Linked DNA regions of Homo sapiens: region 1 is linked to region 2. The links are contacts of gene promoters, found by promoter capture Hi-C in blood cells and fetal thymus (Javierre and others, 2016). All regions are on one chromosome and are shown on one strand. The core of a region is centred on a gene start or on the middle of the fragment in contact, and the rest is flanking DNA. Distances in the headings are between cores, read along the strand shown. Region 1 holds the start of MMAA (metabolism of cobalamin associated A). Region 2 holds the start of NAA15 (N-alpha-acetyltransferase 15, NatA auxiliary subunit).

What was found. Contacts are between HindIII fragments. The CHiCAGO score rates a contact against its expected background, and 5 or more counts as called.
Region 1: a fragment that was not itself captured here is called in contact with the fragment with the promoter of NAA15 in region 2 in 5 of 17 cell types (non-activated CD4 T cells, fetal thymus, total CD4 T cells and 2 more); the score reaches 9.8 in non-activated CD4 T cells.

The regions. Positions count from the first base shown.
Region 1 is chr4:145,616,589-145,621,099 of GRCh38, reverse strand. It overlaps MMAA (metabolism of cobalamin associated A), which reads right to left and starts at 1,715. Exons shown (of 7, transcript NM_172250.3): 1 at 1,693-1,715. RefSeq lists silencers at 1,347-1,416, 1,447-1,886. The HindIII fragment of the contact is 749 bases long and covers 1,473-2,221 here.
Region 2 is chr4:139,298,580-139,302,894 of GRCh38, reverse strand. NAA15 (N-alpha-acetyltransferase 15, NatA auxiliary subunit) reads right to left here and starts at 1,390. Exons shown (of 20, transcript NM_057175.5): 1 at 1,064-1,390. The coding sequence starts at 1,117. It overlaps NDUFC1 (NADH:ubiquinone oxidoreductase subunit C1), which reads left to right and starts at 418. Exons shown (of 6, transcript NM_001184989.2): 1 at 418-479. RefSeq lists enhancers at 1,340-1,399, 1,880-1,999. The HindIII fragment of the contact is 1,328 bases long and covers 498-1,825 here.

The DNA of each region.
Region 1 (4,511 bases), core at 598-3,097, 6.3 Mb before region 2:
GCTAATCACCTCTAAGAAACTTTCCTCTTTTCTCTCTCCCTCCTCAGTCCTCCTTTCAGACTTCACAGCAAGACTCATTCTGAAAGGTGAATGTGATCTCCTTAGCCTCCTACTCAAATTCCTCCAAAAGTTCACCGTACCCTAGGACAGTGGTTCTCAAAGTGTAGTCCCCAGGCCAGCAGCACCTCTTGCGCTTGCCTTTCCAAAATTCCTCTAAGGAGAGTTTACTATCTTCCAAACCTGCCAACTCTCCCAACCCCAAGATTTAACTCATCTTTTACATCCTTCCCCCTCTATGATATCTCTCCTATACTACCCAGCTTAAAATCTTTCCTGACCATCCCAGTCTCTAGGACTTTTTCTGACCTCTAATTCCAATTATTTCTGAATACAAAGAGTCTTCATCTTACAATCGGGTCTGTGTCTGGATAAACCCACTGTAAAGTCAAAAAATCTTTAACTGAACCATTGTGTAAGTGTAGGACTGTACTAAGGTGAAAATCTGCAGAGGTCACAAACTAGTTGCACCTGGCCCACCCACAGAAGGTGTGTGTTAACTAAATTGGTTGCAAGTAACATTAAAAATCAAGAAAAAATACGTAAAAATACAGATCTTTGGCCTGTGTTGGAGAAAATCGGATCTGCGTTTGAGAGACCCCCATTCCCACATGGCAACAATCAGCTAAATGGTAAATGTTTCGAGCATTCACCAGCTCTTTCCATTCTAAATAAAGGTTTTCTTTTGACATCTTCAAATATCTCAAATGGTGATTTACATTTCTTATGGATATGTAACTTTTCATGCTTGTTTTGTCTCTCCTAATAGAATACAGCCCTTAAAAAACCTGTCCTTGTCTTTGACTTTTTAAAAACCTCTTGTTACCCTGAACACAAACCGGTATTTAGTGCAAAATTATTGTAAAAGAATATTCTGAACATTGTAGACAACAGCAAAATGCTGAATAATCCACACAGTTTTTCTGGAAACTTTTGGCTTTCTACCAAGTTGGAAAAGTTTTATTAGTTTATGTTTTCTAAACATATGGATTAGGGTACAACTCTTAAGACAGATAATAAAAAATTTTTATATTATTTTGGTTTAGGTCGTCTTTCATTTTCTAATGAGAAATACATATGAAGACAGCATGCCCTCTGCTGAAAGAGATTTAGACCCTGCCCGGCACGCCATGTGACGGAACCTAGATACTGTTTGTAACTTTTAGTTTGAATCCAACTTTTATATCCTGGATTTGATTTCCCAGAAAAGAGTTTCAATTTCACTCTTTGGTAGGAGTCATAGTGGCTTTCTCTGACGCGGCCTCAGGTTAACCATTTACCGGGTTTGGCAGCGACAAGGGAAGAGCCACCTTAACAAAGCTGCCTTGCTGTGGCTCAGAGATAACCTGAGAAACCTAACCAAGATGAGAATTTTAAAACACTGTTTACGTACAGGGCCTTTCTTTGTTAAAGCTTCCATTTGAACCCATTTGCCGACTCCTGCCTGTCCACACATATCCGCACCCCGAACATCAATATTAGGAGAATATTCGATAATACTCTCCTTTTCCTTCCCCCACCCCAAATCCTCCAGGGGGCGCCCCGGAGGACCGCGCTGGCCCCCCGGCGGGAGGGCGGCCGTAGGCGGGAGCCCAGTCCCGACTCCTGGACGCCGCGCGCACTCCCCATACTCACCCGCCCGAAGCCACGGAAGTGCCACCTGACCCCGCCCCTTCCGCCGGATCCTCCCACGCAGGCGCAGCGCCGACTGCAGGCGCGTGGGGCCCGGGGATCGCCTGGGGCTGGGTGGCGGTGCGGGGCATGGCCAGGGTCCCCGTGGACGTGGCCGCGCAGTTCCGGCGTGTGGCGGAGAGCGAGTGAGCGTGAAGGTCTCCCGGCCTGCAGCAGGCTGCGGAAGCTCTGCGCCGGGAAGTTCTCTGGCGGGGGAGGGGAGGGCGGTTTACGGCCTTTGGGGTAGGTTTTGCCCTTTTTAAGATCCACATGAAATCTTTCGCCTCCGAAGTTCGAGGGTAACTTTCGTTCCCTCCTGGCCTTCGCGACACCCTCGAGTCGGACGGAGGCCGAGTCGTGTCCTCACCCCCAGCAGCCTGCGGCGGCCGGGACCCCCGGAGGCCCTTCTTCCGCTCCTTGGAAACTTAAAATGTGGGGTGAGGGAGAGACGCGTTACGTTTGACAGACCGGTGAAATTAAAGACACTCAAGCTTCTCAGAGTGATTTGAAGAAATGCTCAGCGTTCTGCCGAAATATAGTTTTAAGTTTTTAAACCACGGCATGGTTTTTAAAGGCTGAAGGACCCACAGTTTTTTTCTCTTAAAGGGCACGCATTCATTTTGATTAATATTTCTTAACATGCAGCCAAAGCCAGGACTCGGGCTCACTGCTGCAGGGGTGTCCTCGGGAAGTCCCGAGGGGGGAAAGGCGCGCAAGCCTGAAATGGAGATGAAAATAAACAGGCATAATATTTGCTACCTCACTGCGTTGGGCGTAGTAGTAACTAATTCTTAAAAAACGTCTTAGATGACATATAAGTAGTAAAGCCGTTGTATGCTAATCTAGAATTTTTGAGAAAAACTTAATCACCCAAATGTTTGCTATAATGTGATGAAGATAGCATCCATCGGCAGTAGCCAGGATCAAATGACGAGTAGATATGGTTATAAATGGGGCCCATGCAGTATAATTAGTATATGAAACCAAGATGTCAGTCCTCACACAGAATTTGTGTAATGATATGCATTTGGGAGGCTTCAGGCCTTTTCAGCTATTTGATACAGGTTGATTCTTACTGAATACAGAATAATAAAAAATGAATTACTGGTCTCACCATTTTCATTATTACTATTTGGACCAAAAGACTACCACTTTTACTCCAAAGATTGATTGTAGACTCAATAGCCAATGACAGAAAATTAAGCACAAGTCTAAATGAAGCCGAGGATCTAGTAGAAAGAACACAGAATCAAACCTTTCAAATCTCAGCCTATCGAACACAAACAGATTGACAGTTCTTGAGACGGTTTACTTCCTTTCTTTAAACTTGGCGTTGCTCATCTGAACAATTGTTTCGGTAAGGGTTACGTTTGATGAAAGCTCAGTTTGTGCTACCTTAGAAGTGAAGAAGTTTGTTAATTTTAAAATTGAGTTTATCCTTACCTGCTTTTCGTTCTACAAACTCAAACACTTTCATGCATGTCACTTTTTTATTCAGAAGTTTTCTAAACAGTACAGCTTAGGGAACACATTTCCATGGAACATTAGTGTTTTGCAAAATGTTAATAGATTCTTCATGGGAAAAAAATTGCTAGCATCACCAATACTGGCGAAAATATGAACCTGTCATTATGAGGCTATGGGAAATACACTTTTGTAGAGCTCTTGCCAAAAATGTTTAACCTGAATCTGATTGTGAGGAAACACTGAGATAAATTCTGAATGTGATTTGTTCGGACTTTTCAATAAGGTTAATAAGGAAGACAATAAAAAAAGGCAGGAGGACTGATCTACATTAAAGACAGCTGTCAACTAGATAGCCTTAAGGATTTAAAAAATTTGAACCTGGGCTGGGCGCAGTGGTTCACGCCTGTAATCCCAGCACTTTGGGAGGCCGAGGCGGGTGGATCACCAGGTCAAGAGATCGAAACCATCCTGGCCAACATGGTGAAACCCTATGTCTACTAAAAATACAAAAATGAGCTGGGTGTGGTGGCACGTGCCTGTAGTCCTAGCTACTCCGGAGGCTGAGGCAGGAGAATCGCTTGAACCCGGGAGGCAGAGGTTGCAGTGAGCCGAGATTGCGCGACTGCACTCCAGCCTGGCGACAGAGACTCCAGTCTCAAAAAAACAAAACAACAACAACAACAAAAAAGTTGGTAGTTTCAGGTGAATAGTATATGAATGTTCTTTTAACTCATCTATAGATTTGAAAATTTTCAAAATAAATAGTTGAGGACAAATTGTAGCTAGCAATGCTGGAAACCCATTTCTGCCTCCCAGCAGGTGGCAGCAAATTAATACTCCATAACGTACAAGAAAATCATTGCAATTTCCTCGTCTTGGTAAATGTTTTGGATGTTGCAGACTGGCTTTTTTTAGGGATAGGAGCCAAAAGAATATTGTTGCCAGATTATGGATGTTTATGTTAATTTATCAACTAGTTGGGAAAGTACTTACTGTTCTTCATTGCTCATCTCACACAGAACCAAAAGTCTGTTTGTAAGCTCTTTTGTTGGAATAACAGTCAAGCTCATGTTACCTTCATAAACACTCACCATAACCATTAATTGGCTAATAACCATCAATACAACATTTCAAAGTTTATGAAATACAACTAAAGTATTCTCAGAGGGAAATTTGTAGTTTTTTCATACCTTTATTAGAGAAGAAGAAAAAAAATCAGTGATCTAAGTCAGGATCAGCAAACTGTGGTCTACAGGCCAAGTCCAGTGCATAGTCTTCTTTTGTACAGCCTGCAAAACTCTAGAAAAACTCATTTT
Region 2 (4,315 bases), core at 141-2,640:
AGGGGGAACCCACATACTAAATGCCAAACAAAAAATGTGCTACAATGTGTTAATTATAGCTCCAAGGCTACAGGACATATTTTACAATGTAAACAGTCCCTGCAAACATCAATGCATTTATGGTTTAAAAAAATACAAACTGCACACATTTGAACCGTAGGGAATAAGTCTGAGCTAGCGTCAACAAAATCCATCTCAAAAGTTCTTATATTCTCATTTCTCTGGTAAGTTTTTGCATGTGTTAATATACTTCAGTGTATAAGAAAAGTCTAGGTCTGCAACGTTTCAACTAAAGACTCAACTTTTTACTTCCTACCGAACCGCCCCCTCGCAATGGGCCCCACCTCCCGAGAAGAGTGACGGGGTGGGGCTGTTTCCCGCTCGGAAACTAAGAAATAAATGCCTCATCCCTACTCCAGAAACGAGAACAACGGAGGCAGAGGAGCTGAAGACTCCAGTATGCAACTGACTACAAGGAGGTAGTCGTTTGAAAAGCTTTCTTTCCTTCTCTGAACTCCTTCTTTCCCTCCTCTCAGGTCATTGGGTGACCCCGGGCCGGGCGGAGACAGGTGAATCCCAAGAGAGGAGGAAGAGGGAGGGACAGATGATGGAGGGAGAACCGCGTTTAGGCAATGAATGAGCCTGCTGCATCCGCACCACCTGTTCCTTCCAAGGGTGCCACCCCGACCTGCCAGCAGGGTTCCCACACCAACCGGGCCGCGACTCCTGCCGGTGTCGCCCACTTGCCCGCCAAAGGCCGGGCCTCTTCTCCCCCAGATCGGGGAGAATGAGAACCGGCAGTCTAGAAGCCGGGAGGTCGGGGCCTAGTCCGGAACCAGGGCCTCAAGCGTGGGGATGGAATGAAGAAGCCTGTGGTCCCTGGCGCGCGGGCCATAGTAGGAACCACAGAGAGGGAGCAAAGCAATGCATTCGGCCTGACGAGAGCTATGAAGGCGGGGTCCCGGGCGGGAGTGGCTCAGTGCCCGCCGGGCCGAGGTTAGGGGTGACAGGCCCGGTTACCGGCTAAATCCTCCCCACCGCTTGCCCGGAGCCTCACACTTACCAAGATCCGCTTGAAGAGCGCATTCTCCTTGGGCGGGAGGCTCACGGCCGGCATCGTTCCGGCTGCTCCCGCTGCTCCCGCCACCACCCGGCTCGGTCAGTCAGTTTGTCCGACCGCCGCCGCTGCCGTTCCGTAGCTGCTTCAGCCTTGAATATCTCGATCCGCCGCCACCACCAGGCCTCGGGTGTCGCCGCGTTGCCCTACCCGGACACCTCCTTTTTCCTCGTTGTCTTTTTTCCTTTCTCACTTAACGCTGCCGCCGCCTCCCCCACTACGGGTCTCCGTCGGCGGTTCACGTGGTAACTGAACAGACCGACAGAGGCAGCCAAAATGGCGGACGCGGAGGGTTTTCCCACCCGGGTCACGCTTCCTAACACGCAGGCGCGGTGACCTCCTTTCCCCACCTCCTCTGGGTTTCGGAGCTTGCCGGGAAACCTGGAGGCTGGCCTGCCTGTGGAGGCCGGGAGGGTCGGGGCAGGCCCCGCCCATCATTTCAGTGCGTGGTACCCTCGAAGCGCCCGCGGAGCTACGGGAGGCTAGGCAAGTACGGTTCAGACCGCCTCCTCATCAAAAACAGCCTCTCTGGCGCCTTCCTGCTAGATCGACCTTTCATTCCTTGGAAAGAGTCTCGCACACTGTGTGATCATCGTTTGAGCCCAAAGTGCTAAAATACAGGTGTAGGTGTTTGAGAAGCGCTGTAGTTGATTATGGACGAAATGCCTAATTTAAGGAGCAGAGGCGGAGTGGAAAATGAAAAAAGCTTCACCGCAGTGGAGACTTGTTAACAGCCCTGGGGAGAAAGGGGCTTAACAGAGTCTGGAAATCGTGAAAGAGCTTGACCGATGAAATGGGCCTGGCTGTCGTATCGGTAATTTGGTGAATGTTGCTTAAGATCAGCCTGGAAAGGTAGTTAGTCAGATCCGAAGTGACATATTTGCACTGCCAAAGGAGGCTCTGGAGGTTAAAGTATGTGTTTTAATTTCGTTGTTGAGGCCATATAATGCAGAGTTGACGGACCGACCTTATGAGTCACCTTGGAGCGGAGTAGTGGAGACTTAAAGACAGACTACCCTGGAGCTGGCTTCAAACTAGTTCTTAATATTGTGACTCGAACTCCCCATCCCCAGAAATTCTCAGATCTTAGAAGCCAAAGACTGGCAAGGATACTAGAGGGAACTACTCGAGTAGGCGAGGTCAGACTACATACCGAATAGGAGTCCTTCCAAAAATGTAAGTCATTTCATTAACAGCTGACCGTAAAACTTTTTCAAAGTGGCATTCCATTGATCTAAAAATTTTCAAGTTATATGAGCCACTTTTAACCTTTGGTTTTTGATTACCTCTTTCCAAATCCTGATTTCACTCTGTAGCATTCTTTGCATCATGAATTATTAAACAATATGTGCGTGTTTTTTACTGTTTTAAATTTATTTGCAAAGATATTTTAATTTTCAAACTTCTCTTAACTGTCCCTGAAAGGTGTGAGTTGAGATACATGTTTCCCAATATAAACTTGGGTTTTGTAGCTGCTATATTGATTGTCCTCGCCCTTCACCGGGGTCATAAATAAGGTTTTTAACAGTCAAATCCTGGAGTTTCCTTAAATTCTGTGATCTCTCTTCAAAAGTTTGAGAAAAATCATATATACAGGAAACTATGTTTCAGTTTGAAATATGGCCAGTATTTTAACCTTAACTTTATAAAACTAAGAACAAGCTTATAATTCATTTTTAAGCTGTTACTTAGTAATAACCTGCAAAATTCACTGCCCCAAGAGATCTTTCAACTGTCTGAACTATTGAAAGACAGAAAAAATAGTCTAAATGCAGTTGATAGTTTTAGCTTGGATTTCCAAATCTCTGGCTTCATATCCAAATTTCTGGCTTCATATCCAAAAATCCCTACAGCAATACTATTTGCTATAGTTCTCTAAATTTCTCCTGTAAAGAATATTCTATTTTCCTTCAGAGGAAGAAAATTTCTGGTCTTTGAAACAATCAGTAGCTTCCACCAGAACCTGAGTACCTGATTAGATGAGCCAGAAATAGAGTTTGGCAAATGTTACATTCTTTTTGGGTGATGACAAAGAAATGGCAATTTTAAAGGCTCGGCAAATACTAGTCTGATTCAACATTTAACTGATTCATTTGCTAGTTAAAATGCACCTACAGATAACAGTCTGACCACACAGTAGCCTGAATTGAATAAAAAAATATATATTTACTCTGATCACCACAATTTCACAAATAGAGATCCCATTTGAGTTATACTGTAAGTAACAGCCATGCTTTCAGAAAGTTAACATATCCAAGGCTATATGCTGCCGCTGCTGCTGCTGATGATAGTTAATTCATCTTACCCCATGTGCTTGCATGTCACTATGTTCCAAATGCTAACTCTAAAAAATATTAACCAAAAAGAAAGAAATAAAATCATTTACCTTGCAAACTTTAATTCTACAAAAGGGATATGTTGAGTGAAATTTCTCCATATATGTAAGATGTTCTCTATTGAGACTGTTACATCTTATTAAGTACTTGGATCTTATTTAAAAAAAAAAAAAAGGCTGGGCTTGGTGGCTCACACCTGTAATCCCAGCACTTTGGGAGGCTGAGGCGGGCGGATCACAAGGTCAGGAGTTCAAGACCAGCCTGACCAACATGGTGAAACCCCGTCTCTACTAAAAATACAAAAATTAGCCGGGTGTGGTGGTGCGTGCCTGTAACCCCAGCTATCCAGGAGGCTGAGGCAAGACAATCGCTTGAACCTGGGAGGTGGAGGTTGCAGTGAGCCAAGATCGCACCACTGCACTCCAGCCTGGACAACAGAGTGAGACTACATCTCAAAAAAAAAAACATAGGCCAGGCATAATGCCTCATACCTATAATCCCGACACTGGGAGGCTGAGGCAGGAAGATCGCTTGAGCCCAGAAGTTTGAGACCAACCTGGGCAACATAGTGAGACCCTGTCTCTACAAAAAAATTTTAAAATTTGCCAGGTGTGGTGCTGTGAGCCTGTAGTCCCAGCTACTTTGTGGGCTTGGGTGGGAAGATTCCTTCGGCCCCAGAGGTCGAGACTGCAGTGAGCTGTGATGACACCTCTGCTCTCCGGCCTGGGCAACAGAGCTGAGACCTTGTTCCAAAAAAAAAAAAAGAATATAAAAGAAATTCATGTATTTGTCACCTAGATTTAACAAATGTTAACAATTTGCTATTGCTTCTGGGTTTTTTTTGTGTGTGTGTATAGACAGG